Regions from separate parts of the Homo sapiens genome. Here all the other regions are linked to region 1. The links are contacts of gene promoters, found by promoter capture Hi-C in blood cells and fetal thymus (Javierre and others, 2016). All regions are on one chromosome and are shown on one strand. The core of a region is centred on a gene start or on the middle of the fragment in contact, and the rest is flanking DNA. Distances in the headings are between cores, read along the strand shown. Region 1 holds the start of FNDC3B (fibronectin type III domain containing 3B). Region 2 overlaps PLD1 (phospholipase D1). Region 3 overlaps PLD1 (phospholipase D1). Region 4 overlaps FNDC3B (fibronectin type III domain containing 3B).

What was found. Contacts are between HindIII fragments. The CHiCAGO score rates a contact against its expected background, and 5 or more counts as called.
Region 2: a contact is called between a fragment that was not itself captured here and the fragment with the promoter of FNDC3B in region 1, in 1 of 17 cell types (neutrophils). The highest score is 8.8, in neutrophils.
Region 3: a fragment that was not itself captured here is called in contact with the fragment with the promoter of FNDC3B in region 1 in 1 of 17 cell types (neutrophils); the score reaches 5.3 in neutrophils.
Region 4: a contact is called between a fragment that was not itself captured here and the fragment with the promoter of FNDC3B in region 1, in 14 of 17 cell types (neutrophils, M2 macrophages, M1 macrophages and 11 more). The highest score is 18.1, in neutrophils.

What each region holds. Positions count from the first base shown.
Region 1 is chr3:172,038,267-172,041,027 of GRCh38, reverse strand. FNDC3B (fibronectin type III domain containing 3B) reads right to left here and starts at 1,450. Exons shown (of 26, transcript NM_022763.4): 1 at 1,257-1,450. RefSeq lists silencers at 98-467, 528-777, 958-1,057, 1,198-1,377 and enhancers at 296-962, 963-1,630. The HindIII fragment of the contact is 7,479 bases long and covers 1-2,761 here.
Region 2 is chr3:171,765,336-171,768,274 of GRCh38, reverse strand. All of the region lies in intron 1 of PLD1 (phospholipase D1), which reads left to right. Among named protein-coding and RNA genes, the nearest start is that of PLD1, 44 kb to the left of the region's middle. The HindIII fragment of the contact is 1,386 bases long and covers 915-2,300 here.
Region 3 is chr3:171,735,794-171,738,493 of GRCh38, reverse strand. It overlaps PLD1 (phospholipase D1), which reads left to right. Exons shown (of 27, transcript NM_002662.5): 2 at 412-602; 3 at 835-962. The coding sequence starts at 443. Among named protein-coding and RNA genes, the nearest start is that of PLD1, 73 kb to the left of the region's middle. The HindIII fragment of the contact is 2,716 bases long and covers 87-2,700 here.
Region 4 is chr3:172,297,611-172,300,310 of GRCh38, reverse strand. FNDC3B (fibronectin type III domain containing 3B) reads right to left here. Exons shown (of 26, transcript NM_022763.4): 9 at 1,524-1,583. Among named protein-coding and RNA genes, the nearest start is that of GHSR, 150 kb to the left of the region's middle. The HindIII fragment of the contact is 4,891 bases long and covers 1-2,700 here.

The sequences.
Region 1 (2,761 bases), core at 201-2,700:
AAGTCTGCAAACGGCACTGTCTGGATAAAATGCCATTGCTTCCCTTCGTCTGGGATGGCAGGGTGGGAGCTGAGATTCCAAAAGCTCCAACTCCGACCGCGCACTCCTGGAAGCCTCCCCGCCAAAGGCGCCGCCGGGCGGCGCAGCCCAGTCTCCCGAGACGGCGGGCCCGGGTCCTCCGGTTCCCACGGGACGCCGGGACCCGGACCTCTGGGAAAGTTCGCGGGCACAGCCCGAGGCCCCACTTTCTGCCGAGAGTGACAGGCCCTTCCCACGCCTGCCGGCCCCAGCCCAGCCGCGGGCACCAGACGGTCCGCGCGGCCCCTCCTGGCCGCCTCGGGGCGCAGATTCCGCCCGCCCGCCCTATCCCCGGCCGAGGCGCCCCTCGGGGTGACCGACTGACCGGAGCTCCGCTGGCCCACACACCGGGTCGCCCGCTCCTTCCCGCCGCGCCCCGCTCCCCCGCCCGAGCTTCCAGCCGCCGGCTCGCCAAGTCCGGCCGCGGCCGCCGGTTACCGCCCCCAGCCCGGGGGGAGCCCGGGGGGCAGGACGGGGAGGAGGACGTGGCGTGCTCGGAGGTGGCCAGCAGCGGGGCGGGGAGTGTCCCGGAGAGGCCCAGCCGGGGACGGGGGGGCCAGGCCGGCGCGGGCTCGGGACCCTCCCCGCGAGCATCCCCGGGTTCGAGGCCCCCGACCGCCCCCGCCGGCGCGGAGAGGCGGCCCCAACTTCCAGCCCCACTTCGCACTCCCGCCCTCTTCCCTCCACCATATGGAAATCTACAGCCTCAGAAAGTGACACGTCGAAGATTCCTCGGCCTCGCCGCCCGCCCTCCCCCTCCTGGGCAGCGTTCCTGCCGCGGAGATTCCGGGAGGGGGAGCGGATTCCTCGGACAAAATCTGCTGGGAAGGCTGGGGGTGGGGGGAGGCCGCGAGCCACTGCCCAATTTTTTTTAAGAGGAATCTACCCGTTTCTTTCACTCCTCCAAACCCTGAGGCAGGGGGCACAGGCGGGGGACCCCAGCCCAGCAAGGCGGGGGCCGCCCCCTCCCGGGTCCCGTGTTCCCGGGGTGCCCAGGCGAGCACGGGGCGCCCCAGCACTCCGGCGCCAAGTTTTTGCCGGGAAGCCCAGGGCGCTCCCGGGACAGGGACGCACTTTGGCGGACTCGGCGTCAGGCCGGGGCTTTCCAGTGCACCGGGACCCGGCGATCGCGCTCGGGGTCCCGGTCTCCTCTAGTCCCCGGCTCTTGCACGCCTTACCTTCCCTAGGGCTGAAACGCGGGGCTCTGGGCGCGCCACACACCGGGTCGCCCACGCCTTCCCAGCCGGCAGCCTGGAGGATCCCTGCCGCCCCCTTCGCTGCTCCCGCCGCCGCCGCTCTCCTCCTCCAGCCGCCGCCGCCGCCGCTCAAATAACTACCAGGAGGGTTTGATGGGGGATTCCGCCATGTCAATGATGTCGGGACCACATGGGGATTTGGGGCCCGCCCATTACCGTAAACCGCCGAATATACCGGCCGCCACAATCGCAGACTCGCAGAAGCTGTTGTCCCCCGGCCCTGCCTAGCTAAGCAGAAACTCCTTTTGGTTCAGCCAGACTAAAGAAACCTGAGGCTTAGGGAACTAACAACTCCTGAATGGCGAGGGCTGCGCGTTCTGCAGATCGCCAAAGTAATATAAAGGCAATGTTTACTCAGTGATAATTAAGCCTAAAACTGACTTTTTTTCATTTACACATATATTTCGCTTTTTGTTGTTGTTAACCCCCACAGCAACCTTGTGAGCTATATTACTCCCACATTTCCCACAGCATTTTATTCATACAACTAACATAGTATGAGCAATTTTTATTATACTTAAGTTAAAATCTCTCTTTCCTCTTTCTTTTTGTTTTTTGTTTTTTGTTGTTGTTGTTGTTTGTTTTGGGGACTGCAGGCACGGGGCAGGCATGAGCCACCGCACCCTTTTTTTTTTTTTTTTTTTTTCCTTTTTTGGAAGAGAGGGGGTCTCAATAGGTTGCCCAGGCTGGTCTGGAACTCTGTCGCTCAAGTGATTCTCCCGCCTTGGCCTCCCAAAGTGTTGAGATTACAGGCGTGAGCCAACTCACCCAGCCTTATTTCACAATGCGTTTCTCAGGGACAAAGACTGTTTCTTACTTTTATCTTTATATCCGTAAAATATAGCACAGTGCAAGGACCACAATAGGACTCATTAAATAACTGTTGAGTTCATATTAAGTCAAATGTAATGTATTTCTGTTGTACAGGCTCTAAGAGGTTAACAGACTGCATCCCATGCCACCCCTCAGATTATTCAGGAGACAAGAGAGCAAAAGTTAGCCTAGAGAAGCCCCTTCCATCCATAGCTGTCCAGGTATTCTGAATAGCTACATTCAGCCTCAACTATTAAGCTACAAAGGAGCATTCAGGGAGTCACTAGAGACAATGTATTACTTTTGTTAACCTAAAAAATAATAATAGCAGTACATAATACTCTGTTAAAGTCTAAAGAACACTAAGAAATAGCTCCTTCCTTCCCTTGTTCATTTGCCATTCTTTTGGGGAGATTTTAGCCTTTTTTTTTTTTTTTTGGAGGCAATGGTGAGTCCAGAGAAATGGGGACCTCTCTCCTAAATGGCTTATTTACTGTGGAGCTCCTCAAAGGGGAACTTGAAGCCATCTTTCTATAACATAACTCCAATTCTAGGTCATAGTCCTGCATGAGAAGCCGGGGCGGGGGGTAGGCAGTAGTTCCTTAGTGCCAATA
Region 2 (2,939 bases), core at 358-2,857, 270 kb after region 1:
TGATGCCATCCACCCTGGAAATTCACTATTTTAGTAATGTCAGTAAATACTTAACTTCCCAGAGGGATTGCAAAAGTTGAGGATAGAGTATACTCCTGGAGCTGATCTGACCACAGAGCTCCCCAGTTGCCTGTTTCATTCTGAAGAACCCAATTTAAGTTTGACCCAGCATTTCTGGGGTAGTAGTACTACCCCAGTTAGTAGTAATAGTCATAGCAGAAGTGGTAGAATAGTGGTAATAATAATAATAATAATAATAATAATGAACACATAAAAGTCATTTCCTAAGTGCAGTCACTGTTCTAAGCCCCAGCCCCCCTCTCTTTTTTTTTGAGGCAGAGTCTCACTCTGTTGCCCAGGCTGGAGTGCAGTGGCACGATCACTGCTCACTGCAACCTCAAACTCTTGGTCTTAAGTCAGCCTCCCACCTTGGCTTCCCAAAATGCTGGGATTACAGGCATGAGCCATGTAAACAAAATGCTGGGATTATAGGCATGAGCCTTGTAAACATGCCCGGCCTGTTCTAAGCCTTTTCCTTAATCCTCACAACAACCTTAAGTTGTTGATTTTCTTTATTATCTCCATTTTACAGTTGAGGAAACTATTCAAGAAAGTTAGATTGACCTAAGTCAGAGCAACTAGTAGGCAGCTATGACAGTGTTGTGCATCAGAAGGTGCTGTGGAGGGGGAAGAACTGAAAATAGAATCCAATATTAGAAAAATATAAGAAAAAAATACAACCTAATACATTTTGGATTGTATTATGTCCAATATAACCCAGTACTTATTATTGAGAAACAACCATGTAGATACTGACATCTGTGCTGCTCTTCATTTAGAAGATGCTCTGTTGACTTACTGTCAACCAGCAAGGCAAGCCATTGGTGTCCTTTCTCTACTTGGGTTGGTAAGCTTGTGCTCCACTTTCTCACCTACTCTGCTCGTGACCAGTGGCAAGAACCTGGTGACCAATGGCAGGATATAGAGGTTGCCCATGGCCCGTAAATGAGACCAGTAGTGGCCAGGCCGTATGGAGAATAGCCCACTGCATTGAATACTGTCTTTTAAACACTTAAGCTACTTTTGGGATTTTAGAGACTTTTTAAGGCTAAAATAATAAAGCCACTAAAGCTAGGAACTTGGACTTTTCTGATTGTTTAGTTTTAATTTGGCCAGTAGGAGTGTCCTCTTTATTTCTGCCCAGTATGACTTCCTGCTAGTAATCAAAGCTCTGGTTATTTGGCAGTCTTGAAGGTTTCCTTAAGTTTAGTGGATAACCAAGATTATGAGACATATATTTTTTTAAAAGACATAAATGTGCATTTGAAAAATATTGGGCAAATAACTTCTACCCAATTTGGCTAAAATTTAAACGTGTTACAAATAAGTTTAGAACCTTTAACAATATAGAACAAGATAACCCAGACAGATTAAGGAGCTAACTTAAAAGAAAGAAAAGAAACGAAAAAATAAAAATTCTGATCTTTGAATGGGTAAGCACTTTCTCTTCCCAAAATCAATAGAGGAAATCACAAAAGGAAAAAGTCAATAGATTTAAATTTTCTAGGTAGGAGTGTAGACGCTTTAAGTATAAAAATGTTAATTGAAGCATTATTTATTACCATGAAAAGTTGCAAATAATAAAAACATAAAGTAGCAGAAGAAAATTGCATGACGGACCATCACAATTTTATTTATGGAAAATTGTAATAGGAGGAAATGGTGATGATAGATATTTAAGTAAAAATAATGGATATTAAACTATCTCTCCATCACACATCTGAATGTGTTTAAAATATACCTCTCTATGTGTGTGTTATGCTTACAGAGACAATAGAACGGATGATCACCTTAAGTTAATAGGGATTTAGGGGTTATTTTGAAGGTGGGATTTCTGATGATTTATATTTTCTTCTTATACTTTTCTACATATTGGTATTTTAAACATGATTACTTTATATTCATTTTAAAAAAGGGAAAAACTATTCATGGAGAAAAAAGTGAGACTATACCAACATATAATAGTAGAAATAGTAGACTAACATTACTCTTAATCTATTTAAGGTATTGGCTCTAAAACTGATTTTAATTTCCTCAAATTTGTATATATTTAAGGTTTTCTTAGATGAGAATTTATCATTTTTATAATAAAAATTAAAATTGATTAGAAGTGACAGGTTAGAGTTGAGGTAAAATGAATTTTTATAAAGGACAGAATCATTTTACTTTGGAGAACAATTATATTGCTGCCCTTATACATCATGTTAGGAAACACCTTTTTGACTTTTCTGTGTCAAGCTTAAAATTTCAGTTAGGTTTTTATAGCTAATTAAACTATAAGGTAGATAGTGTATTTAATAAAGGATACGGAGGAAGTTCATGTAAATACCTGAAACATCAGTCCAGGAAAGATTCTTTGAGAGATTTTCAATATGTCCAGATGTCTGGATAACAATTCTTTGGTCTAAACGCAGTTGATGATGTGATGAAAGGGACAAGTCAGCATACCAAGACAATCCTTAGAAGGGACGATTTGACTGGAATGCTGAAGACAGAAGAAAACCTTAGAGTAGCTGACTTCATACTTCCCCTTCCTCATTTTACAGATCAAGTCACTGAAGCCCAAAATGATTGAGTCCTCAAGTCTACAAGGTCGTAGTAGATTCGAATGGAAGCTTTTGGGGTCCTTTGATTCCCCCTCTGCTGCTCTTTATAATATTCTGCTCGTTTTCACACACTTTAGTAATGATGAATGAAATTTTATTTCCATTTCTCCTAGGTTGGTAAAAACTCAAAGCTAACACCATTCAGAACTTACCTAATGATGTTTGAAAAAGAGGCGGTAGGCTGATAACTGCTTCCTAGGAAGACCTACCAACTTCACCAGCATGCTCATTACTCTCATCATTGTTGTTGGAACATTTTGTTCTTGGGTACAA
Region 3 (2,700 bases), core at 195-2,694, 300 kb after region 1:
TATTTAGAGTTGCTTATTTTTCATGATATTCTTTCTTCAGCTGTATTTATTACAGCAAATAATCTATTTCTTTCTCTGAATAAGCTTTCCCAAACCAATCTCCCTTGAATTACTTATCCAAGTTAATAAAGTTGGATGAGAGAAATGTTGGCATTCAATGTGGTGTTGCTTTTTTTTTTCTTTTTTTTTTCTCTTGTTTTCAATTAAGCACTCTGTTTTAATTTACAAGTTAGGAATCCTTTAAATGTTAAACAGGAACGTAAACTAAAAGGTTGTTTTGGATAACTGAGGCTCACACAGAGCAGGCTGAATTGTTTCCATATGCTGTATCTAAGTCTGGATTCAAATTGTGGAATAGCATTTTATGTTATCAAAATGCTAAGTCTTTGTAACCGTTTTCTTCTTTCCTAGCCCCTTTGCTTTTACTCTGTCCAAAGTTAACATGTCACTGAAAAACGAGCCACGGGTAAATACCTCTGCACTGCAGAAAATTGCTGCTGACATGAGTAATATCATAGAAAATCTGGACACGCGGGAACTCCACTTTGAGGGAGAGGAGGTAGACTACGACGTGTCTCCCAGCGATCCCAAGATACAAGAAGGTAAAGACGGATGATCTGAGCGGGGAAGAAAAGAGTTTATCTCGGTTGGTCGGAAGACCACAAATTTGAAGTAACCAGCAAATGATTGATTTTCCTTGCAGATGTAACACCGGGCTCAGATCATTTTATAAGAGGCTTACTTGTTTTAACACGTGATTCTTAAAAGAATGCCTGTAAAAGACAAGTTATGCTAATCATATATTGCATTAACTTTATTTACTTTTTTTTTTAGTGTATATCCCTTTCTCTGCTATTTATAACACTCAAGGATTTAAGGAGCCTAATATACAGACGTATCTCTCCGGCTGTCCAATAAAAGCACAAGTTCTGGAAGTGGAACGCTTCACATCTACAACAAGGGTCAGAGCGTTTATGGACTCACCCTTTTTTCTTTTGTCAATATATGTGAATTAGTACATAGCCTTTCATTTTCCTCCCTCTTAGCTATGATCATGTTTGTAGGTTTTTGTTTGTTTGTTTTTATGTATCTATCATTTCCAAGTCATTTTCACCTGTCAAGTTTTTGCCTCCTTCCCATTTAATCTTCATTCTTATATTCCTCTTTCTTCATTTGAGCCAAAGCTCTTTCTTTTAAAAAGGCATGTAAGGCAAATTAACAGTTTAATAAATTGCAAAGTGCCTCTCTTAATCTTCTTCTCTCCCCAGTTTTCTGTTTCATTTGGACTCTTGATGCATATTTATTCCACCTTGCATGGCAGGTATAAGTCAACAAGAATTTTAGCTTTCCTAATGTTTATTTAGCATGAAAATGTTGGTGCTACCTGGCTCTTAAGAAAAAAAGCCGGGATACTGGATCGGCCAGTGCCATTACCTCAAAATACTGTTGAGAGAATTCTGCAGCCATACTCTGCCTCTCTGATTGGTTCCTAGAAAACCATCCTTTAGTCCTCATTCACGTGATATTTCACTGAACGCTGAAAAGGCTTTGGAGTAAAATGTCTTCAACAATCAAAGTTATGCCCTTTGAAATGGATTGGACTAGAAGAAGCTGTTAGGGTAGCTACTTTTCTCTGTTCCTGGCTGGATTTTGCAGTTGTTAAGTCTCCGGGGGAGGACAATTGCTGCAGGGTGGTGACCTTTGTCCCTTCAGGCTAAGATCTAGCCATGGCAGAGTAAGGCCACCACTGCCTCCTGCCTCAGGGGAAGCACAGATTAATAACCAGCTGTCAGGGCATGCTTTGCCTTCCCTTCCTCCTTGTCTTTTGGAGGTGGCATGCGCTGCATTGCTTTCTGGGTGGTTTTGCCTGGTGCTGTGTCCCAGCCTACCTGCACATGTACTGACTCCCAGCTTACACTCATTTTGGTGTCAGCCTCTGGTTTAGGCTTTCCCTGTGACTCGGGTCCATGTCTCCCTGATACACCACTGAGCACAACTCCCTCAGAAATGTCTCTAAGATGAGCTTTGTTTTCTTATTTCACCTGCCAGCATTTAGATTGAAAGATAATAACATGTGGGGGTAAATGACAGACTCTAGAGGCAGACTGCATGGTTTAATTCATCTTTGCCTTGTGATCTTGAATGAGTGACTTAACCTCTCTGTTCCTGTTTCCTCTTCTGAATAAAGGGTATAACAGTGCTTACATTATAGGTTTATTACAAAGATTTAGTAATAATAATACATATGTATTATATTATACAAGTATACACTGTATACTCATTACTGCAGTCACTTTTTCCACCCACCCCTCCTTAACACTGGTGGTTCCTTAGGGTGGGTGGGTGGTATAGACAAGGCTGGACCTTGGAATGTGTTTCACAAGAGAAGGAGAGAAGGCATGTCGTGCCATTTCTGAAGAACAAAAACAGCCAAGATGGTGCTGTTAGTATACAATACGTCTCACCCCTGCCAATTGCCTGGTGCACGGCTTATATTTGTGGACTGGACCCCTGAAGGCTAATTAGGGCCTTTCTCATTGTCTCCTCCACCTAGTTCTTCATTTCAGGTGTGTGTGTGCGTGGATGCATACACGCACATATGTTGGAGGAACAGCGTTTGTAGGAATCGTCTCGTGTGATTGAAAGTTTGTCTTATGTAATTCATCAAGTGAACATTTAGAGAATATTATTTCTGCAATT
Region 4 (2,700 bases), core at 80-2,579, 260 kb before region 1:
CAGAAAGAAACATATGTTAACAATGAATAATAGATAACATTTACATGACTTTTACATTTTCTGGTTTTACATTTTCTGGTTTGTTGTTAAATTGACCATTTTGAATAATGGTTAAACCATTTCTATTATCATCTTAGCTTCACAAATTACACAGATCTTCTTGTACAGAGTGTGTGAAAAGCTCAATACGTTTGGGCGGAAGCTAATTGACTCAAAATCCAAAGTTTTGATTTAAACAGGAGGAGATGGTTGCAAGAGAGCTCATCTAAACAATATGATAGCTGAGCAGATGTGCACTTTATGCCTTAAAACAAAACAACTTACTCTGATATACATTACTTTAAACTTATTTTTAAGAACTTATGCAGCTAATAAGATATTACATCCTCAACGCACATCCTTGCTTTACTACCTTTTTTTTAACTGAGAAAATCATGGCAGAGCGTTCTATGTGAATTGACCAAAGTTAAAACAGCCCGTTCAGGGCAGAACCAGACTCACACTCAAGCCTCCTGGTAATTCATATACGCTCTTCCTACTAGGCTACCTTGCCTCCAACCTCATCCCGAAATCACAAAGAAACTCATGATGTAAATTAACCTTTGGAAAGTATAGTAATAGATGTATATTTCATGCTTACAATTTTATTCTGCAATCTTTATGTATGCATATATAATTGAAAAAAAAAAGGGAAACAATGTGTTGTTGTACATCCAGTTAAATAAAACTATATTTTCTGGGGAACTTAAATATTAGATAAAATAAAGATTAAAAAAAAGTTTTTTTAGTGTTATGGGTCATATTCAGACCTTCTTATTGGCAAATAAATAGATGGATGTATCTTTAAATAATCAGATGGTCTCTCTAAAAAATTCAGATAACACTTTCCTCCTTACAGATCTGTGGTTGGCTGGGTTTCTTCCTAAAATAAGCTAGCCCTACCTTCCAGAGTAGTCACAGTAGAGATTCCAGAAAATCACAGGAGAGATTTCAGGCTACATACTATGCCACATGGGTTAACTGTTTAGCCAAATTGAGTTAATTCTCATCAGAGATAATTTGATGCTTGTATTACTTGTCTTTTTCAAAATCTACCAGCTTTTAAGGTCTAACGGTGTGCTTGCAACATGGAAAGGGCTTCTTCAGTCATTTGGTCTGAATAAACAGTTTATATGATGGTCTATAAGAAACAATGATATGCCCATGGTGACAAAAGTTTCATTTGTTTTACAGAAAGAAACTGTTAAACCATAGTCCAATAGATCTTAGAAGACCATGTAAAATTACTTTTAAAATGTTTAAAATGATTTTCAGTGTTTAACACCTACTTTTCTGTTCACAGAAGCGCTTCTGTGTCTTCCCAGTTACGATGCTCTTGAGAGTCAATGAATGGCCCATAAGCCATGGTTCTACAACTTTCAGCAAGGTAAGCAACATTCACCAAAAACTTAAAAGGGAGTACATGTTTTTGCTTTAGCCACCTGGATTCTCCAATACAGTTTGGCTCTTATATCCTAACTCACCTCACATGATAATCTGTTGCTGGTCTAAGATCTTTCAGGTTACATTCTAATTCTTCTCCACTGTAAAGAAAAAGCATTCATTAGTTGCTAATTCCAGTTTCAAAAGCAAACGAGATTTGGAATTTGGGTGTCCAGTAATGTACTGACAATAATTCATGAACTATTATGTCAGATTCCACCATAAACCAGAAATAAACTTTCTTATTTGATATTATTATTTGTTTGGGACTAGAAAATCAGGTTCTTTTTAATGATGCCATCTTAGATCTCGAAAATGGCATGGTTAACTTACTAATAAAATTCTAAAAGATCTTATCACTTCTTACGAGTAAATACATATAAGTAACTAAGTAAGCAAATGAATGAATGAACAAACAAATGAATAAAAATGATCATACCAGCTGTTAACAGAAGGCACTTTCCACACTTACCTTGGCAGGAACCTCAATTATCTCAACTCTGGACTGTCTTAAGAAAAATCACAATCTCACTTCCTCACTTACCAATGCACCGAACAAATAGCTCTCTTCAATAAAATAAAACCATTTATGTCCTCAAAAGTTGCAACTGAACCTCACCTTAAATCATGAGGAAGTAACCAACCAAAATAAGGAATGTTCTATTGAAAATTTTTAAAAAGGTTAAAGGTGTGTGTGCATGTGACTTACTTTGTGTTCTTCAAAAATATCAGTGTCATAAAAGTATAAGAAATATTGTGGAATTGTTCCAAATTAAAGAAGGCTAAAGAGACATGACAACTAAAGGTACTGTATGACCCTAGACTAGCTCCTGCGCGGGAAGGGGTGAAAACTGCCCAATTTTTCAAAATATAACAGGCATTATTTATAGACCAAGCGACAAAAGCTGGAATATAGACAACAGATAAAAGTATCATATCAATGTAAGTTTATGAAGTTATAATTACACTGTGGTTCTTTAAAAAAATTCTTATAGGAAATATCCTGAAGTATTTTGTAGTAAGGGACCATTACATATAAAACTTATGAAAAAAAAGGCCGGGCGCGGTGGCTCACGCCTGTTATCCGAGCACTTTGGGAGGCCAAGGAGGGCGGATCACGAGGTCAGGAGATCGAGACCATCCTGGCTAACACGGTGAAACCCCGTCTCTACTAAAAATACAAAAAATTAGCCGGGCGTGGTGGCGGGCACCTGTAAT